Regions from separate parts of the Homo sapiens genome. Here region 1 is linked to region 2. Evidence: promoter capture Hi-C in 16 types of primary human blood cells and fetal thymus (Javierre and others, 2016). All regions are on one chromosome and are shown on one strand. The core of a region is centred on a gene start or on the middle of the fragment in contact, and the rest is flanking DNA. Distances in the headings are between cores, read along the strand shown. Region 1 overlaps TSPAN18 (tetraspanin 18). Region 2 holds the start of CD82-AS1 (CD82 antisense RNA 1).

The links. The method cuts DNA at HindIII sites, captures the fragments that hold promoters and counts their contacts. A CHiCAGO score of 5 or more calls a contact.
Region 1: a fragment that was not itself captured here is called in contact with the fragment with the promoter of CD82-AS1 in region 2 in 2 of 17 cell types (non-activated CD4 T cells and naive CD4 T cells); the score reaches 6.1 in non-activated CD4 T cells.

What each region holds. Positions count from the first base shown.
Region 1 is chr11:44,775,538-44,780,026 of GRCh38, reverse strand. All of the region lies in intron 2 of TSPAN18 (tetraspanin 18), which reads right to left. Among named protein-coding and RNA genes, the nearest start is that of TSPAN18-AS1, 41 kb to the right of the region's middle. RefSeq lists enhancers at 2,149-2,648, 2,649-3,150. The HindIII fragment of the contact is 4,152 bases long and covers 1-3,633 here.
Region 2 is chr11:44,603,898-44,608,552 of GRCh38, reverse strand. CD82-AS1 (CD82 antisense RNA 1) reads left to right here and starts at 3,216. Exons shown (of 2, transcript NR_182290.1): 1 at 3,216-3,535; 2 at 3,823-4,045. It overlaps CD82 (CD82 molecule), which reads right to left. Exons shown (of 10, transcript NM_002231.4): 5 at 3,371-3,495; 6 at 3,124-3,198. The HindIII fragment of the contact is 7,514 bases long and covers 1-3,849 here.

The DNA of each region.
Region 1 (4,489 bases), core at 308-2,807, 170 kb before region 2:
GCATAGATGCGCATAGGAATGCGGAGGCAGGTGTGTGCAGGTATGTGCAAAGGCAGACAGGGATGCGGGTAGGTATGTGCATAGGTATACACAGGTATGTGTGTAGTTGTGCACAGGGATGTGGGCAGATGAGTGCATAAGTATACACAGGTATGTGTGTAGGTGTCCACAGGGATGTGTGCATGTGTGTGCATAGGCAGACACAAGGATGTGGGTAGGAATGTGCAGGCACTTAGGAGTGTACATAGACATGCACAGGCATGTGGATAGGTGTGCACAGGTATGTGGGGGGTGTGCAGGTATATATGTAGATATGCACCGGTATGCAGGTATGTGTGCCAGTGTGTGTGTAAATATGCACAGGTATGTGGGTAGTTGTGTGCATGGAAGGCAGGCATTAAGGCATAGCATGCAGCAGTGTGTGTACCCATTAGCAGTAGAAGGCCATCCATGTCTTCACAAGGCCATGGTGGTATACTCCATTTTCTCCATGAGATTGATGAATTTCACCCACAACTCTAATCTCAAAGGCTCCCAGCCTAGGACGCTACTGATCCCATTAACCTTCTCCAGGGTCTAAAACCAGTTGACCATTCCTAGTCACTCCTGCCCAGAGCAGGTCAAGGAGGGGCCTTCACTGAACACAAAAAGGACACAGTGTTTTTATTGGCATCTGAAAGCATCTGGCCCCAGGGAGTGCCTAGATAGTTCAGAAATACCTGGCCTTTCCCTGGCCCTATTTCAGAATCCCGAGGGTAAAGGGCTGATCTCACTTGACATGACCTGGGGTAAACTGAGAACACAGCCATGGAGTGGGTGGGGAGGAATGGTTGAGGAGGAACATGCGCACCTAGAAGGAAACGGAGCACAATGGAGGCCTCTCCCTTGCCAAAAAGGGCTGTGGGGGTCAATCCTGGGGCAGGCTCCCAGGACAGATACATGTGGCCTGGGGCTCTTTCAGGATCCCCAGTGGCCACAGCTCCTCACTTGGCTCAGCAGGACCTGGGTCCTGGCTGTGGCTCTTACTGCATAGACCGAGCCTAATGGCATCTAACCATCCTGGGAGGATGCCCGGTGTGTGGGCCCAGAGACCAAGACTAATGTCCCCAGAGATCCCCAGGACCTCCAGCCACTGGACAGCTGGCTGCACTGGGTGCCATCTATCTGGAAGAATCAAGACAGCCCTGCCCTTGGTGTCAGCTGACCTCAACACCTGAGGTTCTAAGAACCACAGACTGCCAGGACTGTCAGCTTCAGGAGGCCAGGTCTCAGCTGCCAGGATCACCTGTGTATCCCAGGGCCCCACCTGGCACCAGCCAGAGTAAGTGCACACACGCTTAATGGAAAGACTAAATAAATGCGGGTATTAACAAATGCTGGCTGGCTAGCACTGGGAAAGTCCTCAGAGACCAAGTGAGCCATCCCTCTCCCCATTTTACAGGTAGAGAAACTGAGACACAAAGAGATTTCCTCCATTGCAAATTCATTGATGGGGCTACCCTAAGGTCCAGCCACCCACCTACTAGAAGGCCCTTCACCTTCCTTCTAGAAGGCCAGCTGGAATCAATAGATAGTGCCTGCCTAGCTTGTTTTCCAGAGGATTCTGGAACCAACAAAAGTGCTGCAATTGATTGGTGATGTCTGCGGGGAAAAAGAGAGGGAGGAGTGACAGACCAGAGACCTCCCATTTACACCTCTTGGCCCCAAGGAAAGGGGAGATGAGGGAGAAACTCCCCTCTCCCCATAAGAGGCTACTATTTGCCAACTCAGGCCCTTAAACAAGAGGTGTGCTCCTTCTGGCTAGCTACACAAGTTGCACCATCCTGGGCAATCTCTCCCCTCTCCCCACCTTCCTTCCCCACCTCAGAACTAGAAAGAACCCAGCCCAGCCCCCATTTCTAGTTCTACCTCCTTCTTCCTCCCATGGGTGCTCTAACCACACCAGAAGACTAACTGCCCCACCCCCCACCTGGAGCATAATTCCCATCTGCTCAACCTCTCCAAGGGTTCTCCTGTGCTCTACCCCCTAGGGTATCCTTTCTGTTGGGGGGAAAAATCCTTTAAGAGGCACCTTCTCTCCTGAGCCAGCTTGCCCCAGAGCCCCGCAGACAGAACCCACACATGTGGTGCCTACCTGGGTATCCCTAGTCCCTGAACCAGGGCTTGGCATACAGTTAGCGCTCAATAACTGCATGGTAAATTAAATTGGCACGTCTACCCGGACACCCTCCTGGAGCTGGCATAAAGACTACAAGGAGTTGCAAGAAAGAAAAGGGGGGGAGGTGGGAGGCAGGCTTCAGGGAACCACAGTGTGATCTATTAACAGTGGGAGAGGAGAGAGAATGAATTCATTTCCTCCCTGTAGTAATTTGCCTGTAAATATTCACAAACCATGCAATTTCTCTCAGCCTTCCCATTAAAGACAAATGCATAAATAAACCAGCCCTACCCAGGGGCTTTGCACACAGGCTGTTGTTCCTCTCCTAAAATAATAGGGTGACTATTCACTTAGCTGCAACCTCCCCATCCCCACAGAATTCCGGAGGGGTCCTGGGAAGTGGGTGAGCTGGAGAACAAGGCAGCAGCTTGGCATAAGTAGGTGCTGGTGACCGGGAGCTGAAGCAGAGTTGCTTGCAGGACCCAGGAGGTGGCTGAGCCAGCAGCCCAGAGGCCAGATGAGGTGGCCTCACCTTGGCAGGGTGTCCTCCCCACCCCCAACCCAATCCCCCATAAAGGGTTCAGAGGTCACACATAGGTCTCTTCACTCCATGGATCCCTTGATATGGAAAAAAACAAACACCTCTTGAGATGCTAGAAATGTATGACATATGGGGGAGCACAAAAGTTCCCAAATAGGGAAGCTATTTGAGGGCCAGCATCCCCCAGGCAGGGTACCCTACTTCAGGGGCCATGGCAGGGCAGAAGTCTCCCATCTAGGTCCGCTCCTAAGCTACCCTCAGGTCTCTCTTAACATCTTTCTTTAGAACCAGGCCTGGGGAAGCACCCAGAGAGGGGTAAAGTGCCAGACAGTGCAGGAAGCCAGCTTGTGAGAGGGGGTATCTTTCTCCTCCCCAGGCTGCCCATGCAGGCTCCTGGGGCACCAAAAGGGAGCTTGGGTCCCAAACCCAATCCCTTTAAAACACTCAGAATATAAGCCAAATCTAGAGAAGCATGGTGAAACTAGACACACTCAACCAGGTCCTAGGATGACAATGGCCAGCCCTGACCCAGCACTTCCTCAGCTACCTTCCCTGGAATCCTCATGGCAGCCCTAGGAGGCAGGTTTCGATCATTATCCCCACTTTATAGACGGGGAACTGAGGCCCAGACTGTAGTCACACGGAGAGTCGGGGGCAGAGACAGGGCTCAAACCCAGACATTCCAGCTGCAAGTTCTGACTGTAAAACCACCAACACTCAGAAGAAGGACGGCAGAGCAGAAAGAAGCTGGACACAGGGTCCCAGCACTGGTATGTTGATTTCTTCTTCAGGAGAGGTGCTATTTTCCCTTTAAATATATGACGGCTGTGGTCTGCAGCCCACCCACATCCTCACCCTTAACCCCAGCAGTAGCTCTGTAGGGAAAGGTTATCGTGCCCAATTCACAGATAAAGAAACCAAGGCTCGTGAAGCTTAATGGTCTCCCAGCCAGCAAGTGAGAACCAGGATTTAAATCAGGGCCAATACCACAGCTGTCTCTGCTGGCTTCAGTCCCAGCCCCTCCACCAGCCAGATGTGACTCGGGCCAATCTTTCCCCAAGTGGACCTCAGTTTCTACATCTATACAGTGGTCTTACTAGTTCCTTTCCTGAGTCCCGGCCCAGGGTGGCTGGGCAGATAGAATGAGAAGACAGCGAATGTGAAGGCCACTGCAGAGCACACCAGCCTGCACTGCAGGCTGTAAAGCCCAATAACTGGGCCACTCGGTGAAGACTGACATTTACAACAGTGTGCCCAGACGCCCCACAGGATCCTCTGCCAGCAGAGAGATTCAATTATGGTCATTATGGTGCACTTAGGAAAACCAGGGAGCAGCTAATACATTTTAGAAAGATTGGCAACAACAGAGGTTGAATCAAAACGAGTTTTCTACTTAACCCTCAGTTAAACAGAAAATCCATTTAACCACAAGGCAACACCCTGTCTTCCCAGCCTCCAATCACTTTTATAAAAAAATCGTCTGCCACTTAGCTTTATATTTTTATCACCCTGAAAGCTGCCTTGGAATGAAAAATAAATTCATTGATGGAGAGAAAGATGTCATCGACCTCTATAGGTTAGCAGCCTGGAGCAACATCCTCAAGCCCTTGCTCCCTCCAGCGTGGCAAGAACACAATCCTTGTTTCCATCCCTGCCAAAGATGCTGGCGGACGCTGGAGAAAGCAGCCCCAGAGGCCCAAGAGGAGTGCAAATGTACACCTCCCACCCCCGCCACTAGAGGGAGCAAACCAAACCTTTGCAGTCACCGGAGGCTCCCAGAAGGAGGCTGG
Region 2 (4,655 bases), core at 1,967-4,466:
GCATGCCCAGAATGTCAGAGCAGTGGTTCCACAGTCAAGACCCTTGGACACCATTCTGCATTTTCACAGAAGTGTCACAGTCTGTGTTCACTTCAACCTGAGTGGTAGAGCAGGGAGAGGCAGATTTATTCTCAATTTATAGAAGCAGAACCCAAGGCTCCAGAGGTGACAGGCCATGCCAAGGTCCCCAACCTCCCCATCGCTGCCCTGAGAAGAGTGGCTGCGGGTGACAGAGGCAGGAAGGACAGAGGGCAGCCCTGGAGACCACAGCAGGGTCACTCCCACCCACCTGCACGGGAGCCCTATCTCCTTTCAAAAGGCCTTTCTTTTCCTTAGGTTCAAACAAGTCCCACCCCCACGCTGAGCCTTGTCTGCCAGAATAAACACATCAAGAGTATGTTTAGTCTTCCACTGAGATTTATGATGCGTTGCGAAAGAAAAAAATATATTGTTCATTCCAATTCGGGCGATACAGTGGCACCAGAACTTCTTCAGCAAAGCCAGAAAATTTCCCCCTGCCTTCCAGAAAAGATGGTGGTGGACTAAGGTGAGGCAGGCTGGGACTAGGGGGTGTGGACTCTGAAGGGGAAGACAGGGGCAGGGGGTGCAATGCACAGAGCTTGGCTGGGGTCGAGAAACCCAAATCTCCAAACAAGTCCTGTTCTGGGGCTGATAGGACACCTCTGAGGCTAAGCTCCTCATTATCAGCCAAGCAGAGTTACCCAGCCGGCGGGAGGGCAGCGTGGTGGATAGGGAGGCATGGGCCTTGGACTCCAAGGCATCAGGATGGAAATCCCCACTCTGATGCATCCAAGCTGTGTGTGTCAGTGGCTGAAAGTCACTTTGCTTTCCTGGGCCTCAGTTTCTTCAAATGGAAAATGTTTGTAAATTTGAACATGTATTGCAGCTCACTTTTCTAGCTCAGCTCCTGGCATGTGGTTGGTGCCAACCTGGTGGGCCATATTTATTACTGTGAGATGGTGAATCACATAGGGTGGACTGCCCAAGATCCCTGCAGAGGCGACCAGCTTCTGAGTCATAGAAACCGGCTCACTGGGGCCTGGTTCTAATCCACCCTGATTATATCACTAACTAGGTCCTAAAGAAGCTCAGTGCCATAGGACAGAAATGAAGACCTGACCCCATGACCATTTTTCTGGGAAAGGAATTTCCCTCCCTTAACTGCTGGCTTCCTGTCTCACAGCCAAACAAGCTGCTTTTCATCTACAAAATCCACTATTTTCCACTTTTGCCTTGACTGCCAGGAAGCTCAGTGCCCAAGTTAGCCCTTAGCTACCAAGAGTATCTTGTCTTGTGAAGTTCCATTAAGTTCTAAGTTCTATTAAATGTTATTTGTTGATGTTGATGTTGGTATAGTGTTTTCTCAGTTTCCTTCCAAGAGGGATCTCAGGCAACTTGACCTTCAAGTGGTGAAGGGCAGGAGCCTATCTGGCTGCCGGCTCTGCCACCCTCCCTGGTGGACAAGAACTGGTGGCACTGGAAGCAGGGACCCTAAGGGTCTGCTAGGCCACAGGCCATGTGCAGCAGGGTCTGGGGACGGGTGAACTCAGGACTCGGAGTCAGGGAGCCTAGGCTGTCCTTACTCCTTCATCTGCAGGACGGGGATTCTCCCACGACCTTGAGAGGGCCTAGTGAGGATCTGCGAGAGGAGGAGTGTAACGTGGTCAACACTGTACTTGGTATATGCTGTGCATGGACTCAACTGGAGGGATGGTGGGTGTTAGAGTCACTGTTATCTATGTTGTTATTGCTCTTCATCTCAGAGCATCTGCTTCTCCATCTGTCAACATAAAACCCTGCAGAGCCATTGTGAGGACAAGACGCTGTATGGAAAGTTTCTAGAAGATCCCACGTGCACACAGTAGGTGCTTCTTACGTGATAACTGTGACTCACAATTAACTGGCTCACCCAACAGCCATTCTTGGCTCCTTTCTCTCTTGTGCCTCTGTCTTTAGAGTCTGAAAGTTGGATACTCACATTCTCAGCCTCTTTTGCAACCAGGGGTGGCTTTGTAACCCAGTCTGGGGAAGTCTGTTGGAGGACTTTTTTTTTTTTTTTTTTTTGAGACAGGGTCTCACTCTGTTGCCCCAAGCTCTGTTTCATGGCTCCCTGTAGCCTCAACCTCCTGGCCTCAAGGATCCTCCTGCCTCAGCCTCCTGAGTAGCTGGGACCACAGGTGAACACCACCATGGCTAGCATTTTTAAAAATTTGTTTGTAGAAATGGGGTCTCACCATGTTGCCCAGGCTAGTCTCAGAGCAATCCTCCCACCTCTGCCTCCCTAAGTATTGGGATTACAGTCATGAGCCACTGCGCCTTTTCTGATAAAAGGGATGGCCATGTCTGGCACTGCCCACTTCCCCATCTTCAGGCCACAGCGGCACAGACATCGTGCCTGGTGCTGTGGCAGCCATCTTGGAACCACGAGGTAAGTGTCATAATGCAGGAAAGCCATCCCAGCGAGGATGCTCAACAGCCAGAACCAGGGCCTCTGAGCTTCCAAACCAGACTTCCGGTCAAGTCAACCACAGATGTCCTTCAACTTTAAGCCGCTGTAAGTCTGATTTTCTGTTTCTGAAAGCTGAACATCTCCCCTCGGACACAAGACTGATGTTTTTATTAACGGTCTCCTTCTAAACCTCATTTGTGGGTGAGTGGCATGGATTTAATAGTTGCTAAAGTATCTTAATAATAACAAGAATAACATTTATTGAGTACTTATGGTGCCATGCGCTATGTGTTTCACTCAGATAATCTCGAATAATCTTTGCAACCACTCTGAGAGTTCAGTTTTCTTATTGTTTCCATTTTACAGATGGTGGAACAGGCACATAGAGGCAAGCAGCTTGCCCAAGGCCACACAGCTAGAAAGCAGGGGGGTCAGGCTAAGATCCAGGCCCAGCGGGGACTGCCCACACCTGCCGCCTTCTCTTCTAACGCTCCCCCATTTGATCACAAGGAATAGTGTCCAGGAGGCCGTCCCTGACACCTACTGGATCTGTCTGTGACAACTGGGGGGGTTCCTTGTCCATCCCCCACACTCAGTCAATCACCCCCATGGTTGGTCCAGCCCAGTGAAGAGGGAGGGAGAGAGGGGCTTACCTTGCCCATGTTGAAGTAGAAGAGGGCCCCGGCCGTCACCTGGGCAATGAGGATCAGGAGCAGGAAAGCAAAGTACTGGGGACACAGAGCAGGCACAAAGTCAGCTGAGGGTCCCCGACCAGGTGCACCCAGCCTGCGTGCCCCGAGAGATGCTCTCCACCCGATGTTACGGCCAGCGCCGCGGTCAGGCTGCACTCGGCTGGATGAGAGGAAATGGGCAGGCAGCTGCGGAGGGATCCGTACTCACCAGCCCCAGCAGGCAGCGGACCTCGTTGACGGCGCCGATGCAGCCCAGGAAGCCCATGAGCATAGTGACTGCCCCCACGCCGATGAAGACATAGGCCCCCATCCTAAGCGAGCTGGAGGAGGTTTCTAGGGGGAAGAAGAAGTACAAAATCAGTGGGCACAGCAGGTATAAACACCTGGCCTAACCGTCCAGGTCTTCTTCCGGATCCCCTCTTTGGAGCCAGGGTGTTGGGGTCAGCTGCATTCCCCTGCTGGCTTCTCACTGCCCAACAGGGAACCAGGTCACCCCCATCCCCACTTGTGTCCCTCCCCCAGTAAAATTGCAATCCACACCCTCATCCAGCCTAAGCCCCTTCCCGGCTTTATTTTTTACTTCGTAAGGCTTCTCAGGATTGAATAGACTACATTTCACTGATTCTTCTTGCTCATTGTCTGCTCTCCCCCTCCACCAAGGACCTGAGGTGCATGAGGGCAGAAGCTTCACTTTATTCCTGGGGAACCCCCAGCTCGAACAGCGCCTCTCGCAGTGAGGTGCTGTGCACAGTGAATATCTGCGGAATTGACAGACAAGAGGCTGGCTGGTTCTCCAGGGGCCACTGACATTAAGATTCCAAGCTGATTTTTAACCCGCCTTCCTTCTTGTCCATATAATAACAAACACCAGCCTTTCTTGCCCACTCACTGTGCCTCATGGGCTTTCCACACGCCGTCTCCAACTCTGACATCACCCTGCCTGGCAGGCACTAGCATGGCCATTTCACAGAAGAAAAAAATGAGGCTCAGAAAGGCGAACAGGCAAGGGCCTGAGCTGGAATTTGAAAATATGCAAATCTCCAGTGCCACACTCTTTCCACTGATGCACGGGGCACATGTATTGCTACAGGTGTGCTGCATGTTCATTCGGCCAAGAAATGTTTACTGGGTGCCCACTTCATGCCAGGCACTGTGCCAGTTGCTGGGGATGCAGAAGAGTGACTAACAAGGTCTGACATTTGGGGGTGGGGAGTGGAGACAAAAAGTACACAATACAGGTTTTCTGGTTGTGTTGGGCGCCATGAAGATACCAAAGCTGGCTAACTGCAGAGAACTGCTGGGCTGGGAGAGGGTCAGAATGGGTCGACGAAGGCCAGCCTGAGCCAGTGACATTTGAGCCAAGACATGAATGAAGAAGTCAGCCAAGCAAAGATCTGTAAGAAAAGCATTCCAGGCAGGGAACACAGCAGGTGCAAAGGCCTGAGGAAGGAGGAGCTTGGTTATTTGAAGATTGGAAAGAAGGTGAGAGAACG